Linked DNA regions of Homo sapiens: regions 2, 3, 4 and 5 are each linked to region 1. Evidence: promoter capture Hi-C in 16 types of primary human blood cells and fetal thymus (Javierre and others, 2016). All regions are on one chromosome and are shown on one strand. The core of a region is centred on a gene start or on the middle of the fragment in contact, and the rest is flanking DNA. Distances in the headings are between cores, read along the strand shown.

Evidence for each region. The method cuts DNA at HindIII sites, captures the fragments that hold promoters and counts their contacts. A CHiCAGO score of 5 or more calls a contact.
Region 2: a contact is called between the fragment with the promoter of ZMAT5 here and the fragment with the promoter of LIF in region 1, in 6 of 17 cell types (neutrophils, monocytes, erythroblasts and 3 more). The highest score is 11.1, in neutrophils.
Region 3: a contact is called between a fragment that was not itself captured here and the fragment with the promoter of LIF in region 1, in 1 of 17 cell types (M1 macrophages). The highest score is 5.1, in M1 macrophages.
Region 4: a contact is called between the fragment with the promoter of ASCC2 here and the fragment with the promoter of LIF in region 1, in 1 of 17 cell types (neutrophils). The highest score is 6.0, in neutrophils.
Region 5: a contact is called between a fragment that was not itself captured here and the fragment with the promoter of LIF in region 1, in 1 of 17 cell types (total CD8 T cells). The highest score is 5.9, in total CD8 T cells.

What each region holds. Positions count from the first base shown.
Region 1 is chr22:30,245,455-30,248,155 of GRCh38, reverse strand. LIF (LIF interleukin 6 family cytokine) reads left to right here and starts at 1,397. Exons shown (of 3, transcript NM_002309.5): 1 at 1,397-1,479. The coding sequence starts at 1,461. LIF-AS2 (LIF antisense RNA 2) reads right to left here and starts at 1,946. Exons shown (of 1, transcript NR_148946.1): 1 at 1,163-1,946. The HindIII fragment of the contact is 10,846 bases long and covers 1-2,701 here.
Region 2 is chr22:29,765,685-29,768,385 of GRCh38, reverse strand. It overlaps ZMAT5 (zinc finger matrin-type 5), which reads left to right and starts at 1,379. Exons shown (of 6, transcript NM_001003692.2): 1 at 1,379-1,514. It overlaps UQCR10 (ubiquinol-cytochrome c reductase, complex III subunit X), which reads right to left and starts at 1,017. Exons shown (of 2, transcript NM_013387.4): 1 at 838-1,017. The coding sequence starts at 987. RefSeq lists enhancers at 886-935, 845-1,494, 1,296-1,525, 1,495-2,144. The HindIII fragment of the contact is 8,045 bases long and covers 1-2,701 here.
Region 3 is chr22:29,796,705-29,799,405 of GRCh38, reverse strand. All of the region lies in intron 15 of ASCC2 (activating signal cointegrator 1 complex subunit 2), which reads left to right. Among named protein-coding and RNA genes, the nearest start is that of UQCR10, 31 kb to the right of the region's middle. RefSeq lists enhancers at 1-216, 217-717. The HindIII fragment of the contact is 2,733 bases long and covers 1-2,681 here.
Region 4 is chr22:29,837,024-29,839,724 of GRCh38, reverse strand. It overlaps ASCC2 (activating signal cointegrator 1 complex subunit 2), which reads left to right and starts at 1,451. Exons shown (of 20, transcript NM_032204.5): 1 at 1,451-1,547. RefSeq lists an enhancer at 1,119-1,178. The HindIII fragment of the contact is 11,938 bases long and covers 1-2,701 here.
Region 5 is chr22:30,509,551-30,512,251 of GRCh38, reverse strand. No RefSeq gene overlaps it. Among named protein-coding and RNA genes, the nearest start is that of SEC14L4, 5.2 kb to the right of the region's middle. The HindIII fragment of the contact is 599 bases long and covers 1,022-1,620 here.

The sequences.
Region 1 (2,701 bases), core at 148-2,647:
CTGGGATGTGGCAAGAGGCAGGAACTGGGGGCATGGAGGATGGGCGAGGGGGCGGTGGGGGCCCGGGCGAGGCTGCAAGAGCTCCCTGGCCTTGGAAAACCAACTCACACACCTTGATCTCAGGTCAGGGTCAGGCGGAAGGGCTGGGAAGGGGCCACAGGGGACTAAATCATCTCCTGGTACTGGGGGTCCCCTGGCAGCTTTAGGGACGGCATGGCCCCAGACGCGTGGCCATGCTGTCTGGCCGGCATTCCCGCATCTCATAGGGTGTATTTATTTTCACTTTTCTGTTGCATTTCTTGGAGGTGTCCCTGTGCTCATTTTGCCCGGCTCCCCACTGCTCCTTTCTGCCCTTCCTCATTCACAAATCGCCTGGCCTCAGAAGACGCCAGAACATGTGACACTGCCTTAGAGCCTCTAGAAGCACTTTTTGGGGACCTCCATCATTCTCTGAGGCTGGGCTCAAAGGGGCTTCCAAGGCAGGTCTGGAAGGGACCAGCCACTTCTCAGTTTCCCCAACCATCAATCAGCACCCGGAGGAGGAAACTGGGGTACGATTTCGCCAAGCCTCTCTCAGTCCTGCTTCAGAATGGAAATGCTGGACCGCCTTCCCAGAAGCACCTTCCCAGAGTGTCCCGACAGAACTGAGTCAGTCACCCCTACCCCCATGTCTTCCTAGCCCCTTCCCCAGCCTCACAGGTACAGTGGTCAGCAGGGCGAGTGCACTGGTGGTGTCTGGAGGCCTGACCCTCTGGGGCCCTGGGCAACGTGTTCCCCTCGGAGCCCCTTGGGGCCCAGTGGCAATGTGCAGATTGGAGGAGGCTACCTCTGGGGTGGCTTCCAGCGCCCATGTTCAGTTCCACTTTATGACCGTCTAAAGTCCACGCCGGCCCCGGCCCCTCCTCCTGGAGCCTCCTTCTCAGCCAAGCCCTAGCCCTCCTCCTCCCACTGCCCCCCTAAAGCCCCCCAACCAGGGGGCACAGGGGCCAGTCTCCATCTGCTAGTCCAGACTCGCTACCTCCCCAAACCCAGGTGAGTCAGGGCCGTCTGGGGCGCCCACTGCTGGGACCCCTGCTGACTCGGCCAGGGGCCCCCTCCTGGCGATGCCCATCTTCAGACAACTCCCGGGACAAGCCAGGCAGGAAAACCACAGGGCGTTTTGTCGAAGGCTTCATTATAATTTTATCAATCAAATTCTTAGAAGAGGGAAAAAGTCTGTTCTCCCCACCCTCCCCCCTCACTCGTCCCCCCCCTTCACTCTCACTTTCTTCCATTCATAATTTCCTATGATGCACCTCAAACAACTTCCTGGACTGGGGATCCCGGCTAAATATAGCTGTTTCTGTCTTACAACACAGGCTCCAGTATATAAATCAGGCAAATTCCCCATTTGAGCATGAACCTCTGAAAACTGCCGGCATCTGAGGTTTCCTCCAAGGCCCTCTGAAGTGCAGCCCATAATGAAGGTCTTGGCGGCAGGTAAATACACCCGCCCCGCGCCGGCTTCGCGTCCCCGCTGCGGGGCGCGGCGGCAACTTGGGGCGCTTGGCAGCGCGAGCCGGACGCCCACCCGCCGCAGACACACGAACACTTGGGGCGCCCGCGCAGCCACCGGAGGCGCTGGGTGGCGGCCCGGAGCGAGCGCGGGCACATGGTCCCAAGCACCGCACGCCCCGCGGCAGGTTGGCGGCGAGGGAGGGGGCGCCGAGCCTTCCTCCTCCTCCTCTTCTTCCCCCTCTCCTTCTCCTCCTCCTCCTCCTCGCTCCGGACACTCGCTGGCTGCTCTTCCCTCTGCGCTTTCTCCCAGATTCACTCTCCCTCTCTCTTTTTCTTTTCTTTCTTTCTTTCCGCTTTCTCCTTTCCAACCGCGGTCCCGGGCTGCTCCCAGGGAGGGGCGCGGGCGGCGAGCAGCTTGCAAACTCCGGCCTGGGACGGGAGCAGGTGCCGCCTCCATCTGCTGGTGTCTGGAAGCGTGTGGTCTGCGCTAGGTGAGATATAGGGGTGTGGCCCCCCTCCCGCAGCCACCCCGGGGCCTCAGCACTGCCTTGGGATGCTGGGACGAACAGGGGACCCAGGAGAAGTGAACTTGAGGAGGCCCCTGTCCCCGCTGTTCCAGCATGGGGGATCCGGGGGAGGTCTCCAGCCTCACTCGCCCGCTGACCCCGGCCCCCACCATCTTCAGGTGCCCTTCTGCAGAGCCCTGGAAAAGCGTCTAAGGGGGCCTGGGGGGAGTCGGGAGAACAGGCCCCCCTGGGGGAGGGGCAAACCAGGACATGTCGGGACAGCTCCCAGCTCTCCTGTCACCTTTCACTTTCCTTCCTCCCCGCCCACCCGACTGCCTATGACCTTTTGCCTTTTCTCTCTCCTGGTGCACCATTTCCTCTCCCTCCCTGAGCCGGTGTGTGTGTGTTAGGAGGGAGGGGAACCCCTGGGACAAGGGACAGCGGATGAGTCGGGAGAAGGCATGGAGTCAGGGGCTGTCCGGAGCTGGGGGAACAGAGAGTTTTGAATGATGATTTGGGGATGGAGAGTGGGGACAGCCAGGCAGAAATGGGGTGAGCTTGAGTGAGATAGGGGACACTAGGGAAGGAAGAGATAGAGGATGATGGGGGCGGGGGCAGAATTGGGGGCAATTGGCCCAGGGAGCCAGAATCAAGTGGCAGGTTTGGGAGGGAGATGAGGGTCAACCGAGGACTCCTCC
Region 2 (2,701 bases), core at 130-2,629, 480 kb after region 1:
ATAAGGCCTACTCCAGCACAGTCATAATTTAGCGATATAAAGCATGCACTGCACCTAGCACAGTGCATGATACATAAAAGTCAAAAATGTGTTGCGATTCCTACCTCATGCTTCCACTTTCTCCTGAGGAATGTAAGCAATGATTATTTTTCAGTGGTACCACCTACCAGGCATGTGGCACCCTGCCTGCATCTCATGTAATCCTCACAATCGTGCTCAGGTTACTATTAATATCTCCATCTCACAGTTAAAACGGAGTTCAGAGAAGAAACTTGCTCAACTTAATGCCACAGTTAAGTGACAAGGACCAGTGTTCCTATCCAAGGCTTTCTGATTTCATAGCCCCCACTCTCAACCATTAATACCAACTGTCTACGTGGGAAGCCTTGGGGACCAGAAGCGCCGTCTGAAACTTCAGCCACGGCGTCTAAGGTGTCTAACGTCCTTTTCACGACCGTCGCCTGCTCAAATCTGCCCTTGAAACTCTGAGAGACAGGGGTCCCGTTTCTGGCCCTGACTTGCCCCTGGCTTCCTGTGCAGCTAGTAAGTCCTTTGCTCTCACTAGCCTTTAGTTTTTGCTTCTGATAATGGGCAAGTGGGTATGTAGGGTGGCACACAGCAATACTTACAACCCCTGCAAAATGAAATATATTAACCTCGCTTAACGTTTTAGAATTCACATCAAGCCAAGGGGACAGACGGCGGACTCGAGACAGAAGACGCCGACGGTTTACCCCTTACCCCCTTCCTGGTAAAAGTATACTGAGTCCCATCCCACCTCTACTCCACTGTCACCCCTCAGGCGGGTCCAAGGTCAGGGATGGCACAGGCCCTCACCCCCTCGTTGATGTGGTCGTAGATAGCGTCCGCGCCTTGATCGAAGGCGCGCTCGAAGAACATGACGCCCACGATGATGGTGAGGGCGAAGGTGGAGGTCCTGCGGAACAGCAGGGAGTACAATTTCGAAGTCAACGTCGCGGCCGCCATGTTTCTTCACAGTCCAACTCGCGCCACCGCGCCTGCGCTGGGGCCGACCTCGTTCCCCAAAGGCCCTAGACGTGCAACACTTTATGGGATTTGTAGTTCCTCTGAATCTCAGCCTTCGTGTTTTGAACCACAGAGGTATTCCTATCCTGGGAATGAGGAAAAAAACTCAAAAGGTTCATATCAGGACAGCCCAGATAATCTGATAAGATTTATTACCCAATTTTTCTTCTCCAGAATTCCTGGCTGTTAGAATATGTCAAACTACAACTCCCAGAAGCCCTCGCGCGCCATCACCTTCTCCCCGCCCTCCGCCCAGTCCCGGCTTAGATTCCCAAAGCTCTCTGGGAAGGGCGAACTGATGGCCAAGGCGAGACTACGAATCCCAGCAAGCAGTACGCGACGCGAGGACGCAGGAGGAGGAGCCCGGAGCTGCAGCCACCGGGGAGCCAGGTACCTTCCGCGAGACGTCGAGGGGCGAGTCCTAGTCTCTTTTCTCCGCACTGGAAGACTTGAACACTTCCTTCTCTGTGCGTACGCCCTGCGGCGGGACGCACCATTTCTTGGGATAGGGTGTGGATAGAGGGGCGAGGGCAGCTGGGTTCCCGAGACCCTGGCTCAACTCTTCGCCTTGTCCCCTGCACCAGCCCCAAGTCTAGGCCAGGAGCTGGAGCCTGCGGCAAAAGTCTTGTCCTGGAGGTTAAACCCTTCACCCTGGATTAAGGGCAGGGACGGATCTGCCCTGCTTCCTGTTCCTCTCACCCCTGGGCTTCGCACCGGGCAACCCTGGTTTGGAAGGCTGGAGACTTGGAACCTGCTTGGGATTGAAAAGAGCAAGGGCTTTGGAGTACCTGGGGCATTCAACAGATGTTTTCCCAGCGCCTGTTCTGGTCCCTGCTCTGGGGACCCAGCAGTGAACAAAGTCCTTGCTCTCACAGAGCGCTCAATCTACGGAGTGGGCGGGTGGGGAGATGCAGTACAGCAAACAGATAGTGCTTTGGTTGACTGGAGAGGCAGTGGTGGTGACATTGCACCCTGGGTAGCTGCTCTGGGGGGTGACACTTGACTAGAGACCTGAATGAATAGTAGAGTTGAACAGGAAAACGTTGGTGCAAAGGCCTTGAGGCAGCTACAGTCCTGGGATGTTTGAGGGAAAGAAGTAGAGTGGACTGTGAAGAGGTTGACTCCGGTCAGCTCATGTCTGGCCTTGGAACCCACCTTACGGAGTCTTGTTTTCTTTGGTTTTTGTTTTTAGAGACAGGGTCTCACTGTGTTGCCCAGGCTGGTCTCCAACTCCTGGGCTCAAGCAATCTTCCTGCCTCGCCCCCCAAGGTGCGTGAGCCACCGCGTCTGGCCAAGGAGTCTTGTCTTTTTCTAGTTGCACTAGGAGGCCATTGAAGGGTTTTCAGGAGAAATGCGACAAGATTTAATGTGCACTTTAATGTCATCATCCTGGCTGGTCTATGGAGAGTGGACCGCAAGGGGGAAGTTATTGTAGTAGATCATTTGAGGGAAGATGGGTGGTTATTTATTTGAGATGGAGTCTCGGTCTGTCGTCCAGACTGGAGTGTAGTGGTGCTATCTCGGCTTACTGCAACCTCCGCCTCCCGGGTTCAAGTGATTCTCCTGCTTCAGCCTCCCGAGTGGCTGGGATTACAGGCGCCTGCCACCATGCCTGGCTAATTTTTTTTTTTAGTAGAGACAGGGTTTCACCATG
Region 3 (2,701 bases), core at 66-2,565, 450 kb after region 1:
GCTGGCTGGACAGGAAGCACTTGCAAACTGCTTAGTCATACACATTGCAACACCCCCAGATCCCAGGCCAAAGATGTTATCCTGGATCAGTGGCCGCTATTCCAGGCCAGCATGGCCCTCTGTAGCTCCAGCGGTGGGCAAGGGGCAGACAAGGGGTCCTCCAGGCTGGCGAGAAGCCTGGCCCCCTGCTCCAATCCAGGAAGCCTGATTGGTAAGTTCCCCACAGAGATTAGCCATCTCTGGATATGGCCTTTCACCTTGATCTGTGGTTTTGTCCAGGGCCCATGGTATTGTAAAGTCTCATCTCACCCCACCTAGGTCATAAGTCACCTACGAGCATTTGCCAAGGGGCTGGTCCCAGCTGTCAGGGTCAGCAGAGTGGCTGGCATTGAGGTGGCCAGGTTTCTGGAACACTGTGCCCTTGTTCCTGGGGCCCTCTGGGCTGGCACGCAGAGAGACTCACTGTGCTGGGTAGCCCAGGGGCTGCAGATTGCAAAGAGGCAAAGCCTCCATTCATGTGTTCATTATTTATTCATTCAGCAAATATTTATTAAGAGATTTAGTAGCACCAGATCCTATGCTAGACACCAGGGAAACAGGGTGAGCTGGATACCCGGCCTTGCCCTCAAATGATCATAAGAAAGACCATTAAACAAGTAAGGACAGAGTGGGAGGTGCTGGGGTGGGGTACACAGGAACTTCGGCAGGGACACATGTCCTAATCCCATGAGAAATTAGGTAGGACGCTGCAGATGGTAGTGGAGTTAAAATGTGTTCGTTGTTGAATCAGATAGGCTGTACTCAGTGCTTAAGTAGTAAGGAAATCTGTTCCCTTGCATGACAAGGCGGTGTAAGGTAGGGCCGTCTAGGCTTGGTTGACCTATCATCCAGAATGTATCTTTCCAGTCTCTTGGGGCCTCACTTCGTGGTCAGGCTACTTCCTTTGAGGCTGCAGAGGGGCTGCAGCTGTTTCTACTATGGCTTCCAGACATGACAGTGCCAGGAGATAGTCCAGACCAGGTCTTCCTGTGTCTCTCCTAGAGCCTAGGATACCTTTCCCAGAAGTCTCCAATACCCCTCATATCTCATCAGGAAAACCAACTCACAGGGTGCAGGCCTGGAGCTCCAGGGTGAAACGGAAAGGTAGAAAGACCTAAAGAAAATGTAGGGTCTGTTTGGAGAATGGGTGAGGTGCAGCATGGCTGTTGTGGAGACATCAATACATGTGCTACAGGTATATCATAGCCAGTGAAGGAGTCAGTGGGCAAGAGGCAGGGTCCCCTAATCCCTTTGGACCATTCCATGGTGCCCTGGAAGACAACATGTGTTCTAAAAATATCTGTGCCGGCTGGGCGTGGTGGCTGTAATCCCTGCACTTTGGGAGGCCAAGGTGGGTGGATCACCTGAGGTCAGGAGTTCAAAACCAACCTGGCCAACATGGTGAAACCCCATCTCTACTAAAAATACAAAAAACTAGCTGGGCATGGTGGCAGGCATCTGTAATCTCAGTTACTCGGGAGGCTGAGGCAGGAGAATCATTTGAACCTGGGAGGTGGAGGTTGCAGTGAGCCAGGATCACACCATTGCACGCCATCCTGGGCAACAAGAGTGAAACCCTGTCTCAAAAAATAATAATAATTAAAATTTTATTTTAAGTGTCTGTGCCCTTGGTCTGCCTTTTGGGGAGTCGCAGAGCACATTAAGGCTCTGAAAAGTCCTGTAGTAAAAGAAACAGGATTCACTTTGTTGAGCCCAGAAAGTGCTGGATCTGCTTCGACATGTCATTTCTTTCTCACATCAGCCCTGGGAAGTGGGTGCCAAGAGAAGGAACTGAGACTTAGCGAGGTTAAGGGACTTGCCTGTGGTCACACAGCCCAGGAAGTGGCAAAGCAGACCTGAATCAGGAGACCTGTGTCTGGCCCTGGCTTTGCTCTTAGTAGCTGTGTGACCTTAAGAGGGTTGCTCTGCCTCTCTGGATCCCCTGATTCTTCACCTGGAAAAGTAGGAGTCTGTTGCTTCCACAGGCTCTTTAGAAGTTCAAAGGCAGGAGTCACCCTGCTAAGGACCAGTTTGAATTGGGCCTTGAAGGACAGGCTTGAGGAGATGAGGAAGGGAAAGGTGGCGAGGTTTCAGGGGCACCTGCATATTCCCAGGGCTTGCTCCCATCTTGGAGGCTGAGGAAGCTACCTGCTCCAGAGGGTCTCTGCAGCCACCATTGCCTGTGTTTCCAGGCTTGACTGAAGTTCTGGCCTCTGATGCATCTTTTCCCAGCTGGCTTTGGTCCTGATTTTTCTTTTTCCTTTCTGGCTCCAAATGAGGTCTGGGGCCAAGGTTGCATCTCCCTGGACAAGCTGCCCAGGTGCCCGGGCTTCACTGTCCCTACCTGTGTCTTCTTCCAGGGCATAGCTAGGGTGGGTGGAGCTTGCCATGCTTCTCTGCCTGGCCCTGCCAGGGAGCCACATAACCAGAGGCCACACAGCATGAAAGAACTGCCCCACTGCACAGAACCAGGGATGGGATGGACCAGAAGCCGAAGGTGTAGCAGAAAGGATGGTGATGCCTCTCATTCTTCCTCAGTCTCCTGGCCCAGCACAGGTCCTGGAACCTATTAGGCCCTTAGGAAATATGTGTCAAATGCATGGGTGTGCTCCTACCAGTGGCACCTACCACCTGAACAAGCTTGGGCTCCTTTTTCTTCCTC
Region 4 (2,701 bases), core at 202-2,701, 410 kb after region 1:
GCCTGTAACCCCAGCACTTTGGAAGGCTGAGGCAGGCGGATCACGACGTCAAGAGATCGAGACCATCCTGGCCAACATGGTGAAACTCCGTCTCTACTAAAAATACAAAAATTAGCTGGGCCTGGTGGCTCATGCCTGTAGTCCTGCCTACTTGGGAGGCTGAGGCAGGAGAATCGCTTGAACCCACTGTAACCTCCGGGAGGCAGAGGTTACAGTGAGCCAAGATCACACCACTGCACTCCAGCCTGGTGACAGAGTGAGACTCTGTCTCAAAATAAATAAATAAATAAATGTGTTTGTTATAAGTGGCAAGCAGTGTGTTGTTATAAGTTTGTGGTAATATGTTATGCAGCAATACAAAACTAATATAATATCCAGCCCCTCTCATCTCATTTCTGGTTTACAGCCCATCTCTCCTATTTCCTTAGCACCCTGCATTCATCACACTGACTCATTGCTATTGGTTTTCTTGCACTTCCTATCCTGTAAGCCCCTTGAAGACAGGCACTGAACTAAGCATTCCTTGTAGCCCTAGTGCAGATAGCAGGGGTTGGCAGGAGTGTCCTGGGAAATATTTCACAATCCCAGGGTGGGGTTGTGTTCTCCATTCGGGGGCTTCTATAACACCCCAATAATGATGGTGGTTGGTTTTGAATTCTTACTGTGTACCAGGCACTGAGATGAAGCCAGGAATGTGTGTTCTTAACAAGTTTTCTGTGATGATTCTGATCCATAGTCAGGCTTAGGAACCACTAAACCTACATTACCTGAGACATTCTGTAGAAAAAATTGCATCCTTCTCTTAGGATAGCTATACTTGTAACTTCCTTAAACAAAACAGAACAAAACTGTATTGCATACATACAGAAAAATGCACAAATCTTAAGCGTACAATTTGATGAATTTTCCAAAGTGAACACATCTACATGGCTACCACCGAGATGAAGACAGGGGGTGACCCCAGCCTCACTTGTGGCCCCTCCCAGCCCACAGCCCCAGAGGAAACCACCAATTTTAACACCATCACTACTCATGAGTTCTGTCTGTTCTAGAATTTCCCGTAAATGAAATCGCAGTCTGTACTTGTACATCTGCTTAACATTATGTTCGTGCTTTTGACTTGTTAAAATTTCTCTTCTGGATTAAATATGTAAAACGGTGACTAAGGAGGTCGGGCAGAAGGTGGAAGCCTGGGATTCCGAGACGTCCTCTCAGGTGCCATACTTGGATTTCCCGAGAGGTGTAATCACACAGCCCGCCCTCAGCTGACCTATTCTCTGCTTAAGCAGGAAGGGAGATAGGAGGGGAAGGGGGCGTGGCTACAGACGCCGAGTGTGGGGCGGAGTCTTAAGAAGAGAGGCGCAACCCGGGTCCGGCTTCCCGGCGGTAGTTTGCTCGGCTCTGGGGGCGGGGCCAGGCCGAGACTTCCTGTCTGCTCCTGCGGAATCGCAGTTTGACCCCGGAAGTGCGGGCGCTCAGGGAGCTGTCACCGTGGTCGGCGGCGGCGGCGGCGGCGGCGGCACAGAGCCGGTGGTGGAGCCGCCGAGGTGAGTGCGTGGCTGGTCCCTGCCAGATGCAGGGCAAGGGACCCCGGAGGAGCCGCGGCTATGCCTTGGGCAGCCTTGGCTCTCCCATCCTCTGGCCTCCATTGCGGGGCCCACGCTTACGCTACCTGAGGGGTTGTGAGCCGCCTCTCGAGACTTGGCCGCCAGGGTCAGGAGCCACGGGTTCGAAGTTCGGCCCCAGAGTGGCGTTGGACCAGCCACGATCCCCCCACGTCCTCACACCCGGGGCTTCAGTTTCCTCAGGGTTCATTCATTCGTTCAGCAAATATTTGTGGAGTGCTTCCTATGTGCCAGACACAGATCTAGACATTGGGGATACAAAGAAAGCAAGACAGACAAGGCTTCTGCCCTCATGGAGCTTACAGTCTAGTGGGAGGAGATGGTCAACGACAAGCAAATGCACAAGGTCATTAAAGCTATGACAGTAACTGGGAGAGTGGATACTATAGGCAGAGCCATCAGAAGGTCTCTGAGGAGAGTAGTATTTAATTGAGAGACTAGAGGAATGATGACAAAGAGGCTGAGGGAGCAGTAGCCCCGGGGATGCTCCCAGGCCATATTGCAATTGGGTGCTTGTAGGGAGCTCCCCCTCCCTTTCTTAGCTTTTGGCTTTTGCTGTCCTGCCTGGCAGGGGAATACAGTGGTGGGCACAGACATAGTCATGATTATTGTTTGTCCTTTTGGAGCTCAAAGTTCAGATTGTCCAGTTAATTTATTTTTTCCCCCCAAGACGGGGTCTTGCTCTGTCGCCCAGGCTGGAGTGCAGTGGCGTGATCTCGTCCCACTGCAACCTCCGCCTCCCGGGTTCAAGCGATTCTCCTGCCTCAGCCTCCTGAGTAGCTAGGATTACAGGCATGCACCACCACGCCCTGCTAATTTTTTTTTTTTTTTTCGGTAGAGACGGGGTTTCACCTTGCTAGCCAGGATGGTCTCGATCTCCTGGCCTCGTGATCCGCCCGCCTTGGCCTCCCAAAGCGCTGGGATTACAGGCGTGAGCCATCGCGCCCAGCCCTGCCTACTTAATTTGTACCCGTGCTTTAGACAAAAACTCAGGTCTTCCTTGACATCACTTCTTCCTCAAGCCAGGTCTCTCTTTTAAATGCTGCCACAGCTTCATGAGCCTTATCTACATAGCT
Region 5 (2,701 bases), core at 72-2,571, 260 kb before region 1:
CTGCTGGCTGGCGGGTGGTGTGGATAGGGTGGGAGGGGGTGGCCATCTTTTATTCCCTTGTTTGTCCCCGCCCACATCCTGCTGATTGGTCCATTTTACTGAGTGCCAATTGGTCCATTTTACAGAGCGTTGATTGGTCCATTTTACAAACCTCTAGCTAGCCACAGAGCGCTGATTGGTGCGTTTTTACAGAGCACTGATTGGCATATTTTACAAACCTCTAGCAAGCCACAGAGTGCTGATTGGTGCATTTTACAATCCTCTTATAGGACAGAACAGTTCTCCAAGTCCCTACCTGACCCAGAAATTCAGCTGGCTTCACCTCTCGGTCTGATCATAGCTCACTGCGAACTTAAACTCTTGGGCTCAAGCAATCCTCTTGCCTTAGCCTCCCAGGTAGCTAGGACCACAGGTTCATGTCACCATGCCCGGAATATTTTTTCTGGCTAATTTTTTTTAAATGTTTTTTTAGAGACAAGGTCTTGCTTTGTTGCCTAGGCTGGTCTTAAACTCCTGGCCTCAAGTGATCCTCCCACCTTAGCCTCCCAAGCAACTGAGATTACAAGTGCAAGCCACCGCTGTCTGCTTAGAATAAATTTTTTTTTTTTTGAGACGGAGTTTTGCTCTTGTCACCCAGGCTGGAGTGCAGTGGCACGATCTTGGTTCACTGCAACCTCTGCCTCCTGGGTTCAAGTGATTCGCTTGCCTCAGCCTCCAGAGTAGCTGGGACTACAGGCGTGTGCTACCACGCCCGGCTAATTTTTCACCATATTGGCCAAGATCGATCCCCTGACCTTGTGATCCGCCTGCCTCGGCCCCCCAGAGTGTTGGGATTACAGGCATGAGCCACCACGTGCGGCGCTTAGAATGAGTTTTTACACAGCTCTGGAGGATTGAAAGTTATCCGTGTGGCTTGTATTATTTTTCCACTGGACAGCCCTGAGCTATCATAATATTTACAAACCCTTAGAGCCAGCCTGGTAAGTAGAAAGTACCTGTAAGTGATAGTTAAATAAAAGCTTCTCTTGGGAGGTGATTTGTTACCTCTGGTATTTCAAAATATGGCTTTTCCCACTCCTCAGAAACTGGGAAAAGTTGGGGCAAATTTATTTAAAACAGATTTTTTTTTTTTTTTTTGAGAAAAGATCTCCTCTCTGTTGCCAAAGCCGGAGTTCAGTGGCATAAACATGGCTCACTTTAGCCTCGATCTCCCTGGCTCAGGCAATCCTCCTGCCTCAGCCTCTGGTGTAGCTGGGACCACTGGTGCGTGCCACCACACCTGGCTAATTTTTTGATTTTCTGCAGAGACGGGGTCTCATTTTGTTGCCCAGGCTGTTTTCCAACACCTGGGCTCAAGCAATCCACCTACCTCAGCCTCCCAAAGTGTTGGGATTACAAGCATGAGCCACTGGGCCCAGCCCCAAATTTCTTTTCTTATCCAGTTTTTCTTTTACTGAGTAGTTTTTGTTTTATGTTCCAGAAGCATAAAGCATGCATTATGTGGTCCTGTCTTTCCCAAACTGTTGTTATAAACCCTTCCATCAACTACATTAAGCACCATAGCTTACTTTAAAATTGTCTCCAATCTTCCTGTTAACAACACACAAACAACTTTAAGCTTAAAATATTTTTTGTTAGGATTATCACTGGGCAAAGTGGGAAAATATTTCAGGATTCTGAAGTGTATGGTCAAGTGGTTTTCCAGAAAAGCTGAATTCGTTTATATTCCTGCCATCAATGTATTAATGTCTCCATTTCACCAACTTCTAACTGACTTTATTATTTTCTTTCTTTTTGTGACAGGGTCTCCCTCTGTCACTCAGACTGGAGTGCAGTGTCACAATCATAGCTCACTGCAGCCTCCACCTTCTGGGCTCAAGTGATCCTCCCTCCTCAGCCTCCCAAGTAGCTGGGACTACAGGAGCATGCCACCACGCCTGGCTAGTTTTTTAATTTTTTGTAGAGACGAGGTCCCACTATGTTGCCTGGACTGGTCTCGAACTCTTGGCTTCAAGAGATCTTCCCAAAGTACTGGGATCACAAGTGTTAGCCACTGTGCCTGGCCTATTATCTGAGTAGCTGGGACTACAGTCTCACCCCACCACACCCAGCTAATTTTGTAGTTTTTTCTTAAAAGGTGTGTGTGTGTCTGTGTGTGTGTGTTGTTTGTTTTTGCTGATTTTTCAGAGAAAAATGCATCTCATTACTTGAATACACATTTCATTGATGACTCTGGAGATTGGGCATTCATCCACTTGATAAATACACCCTGAGCATTTTCATTCCTAAGAATTGGTGCTTTGAATCCTTTGCCCATTTATTTCTTAGGGCCTTCCTATTTTTCTTATCAACTTGAATTTTTGTACATTTTATTTTTCCCAAATTTCCATCAGCAAATACTGACAAATGTCTTTTTTTTTTTTTTTTTGAGATGGAGTCTAGCTCTGTCGTCCAGGCTGGAGTGCAGTGGCATGATCTCAGCTCACTGCAACCTCTGCCTCCCAGGTTCAAGTGATTCTCCTGTCTCAGCCTCCCGAGTAGCTGGGATTATAGGCACCTACCACCATGCGCAGCTGATTTTTGTATTTTTCGTAGAGACGGGGTTTCACTGTGTTGGCCAGGCTGGTCTTGAACTCCTGATCTCCTGATCCGCCCGCCTCAGTCTCCCAAAGTTTGGGATTACAAGCGTGAGCCACAGCGC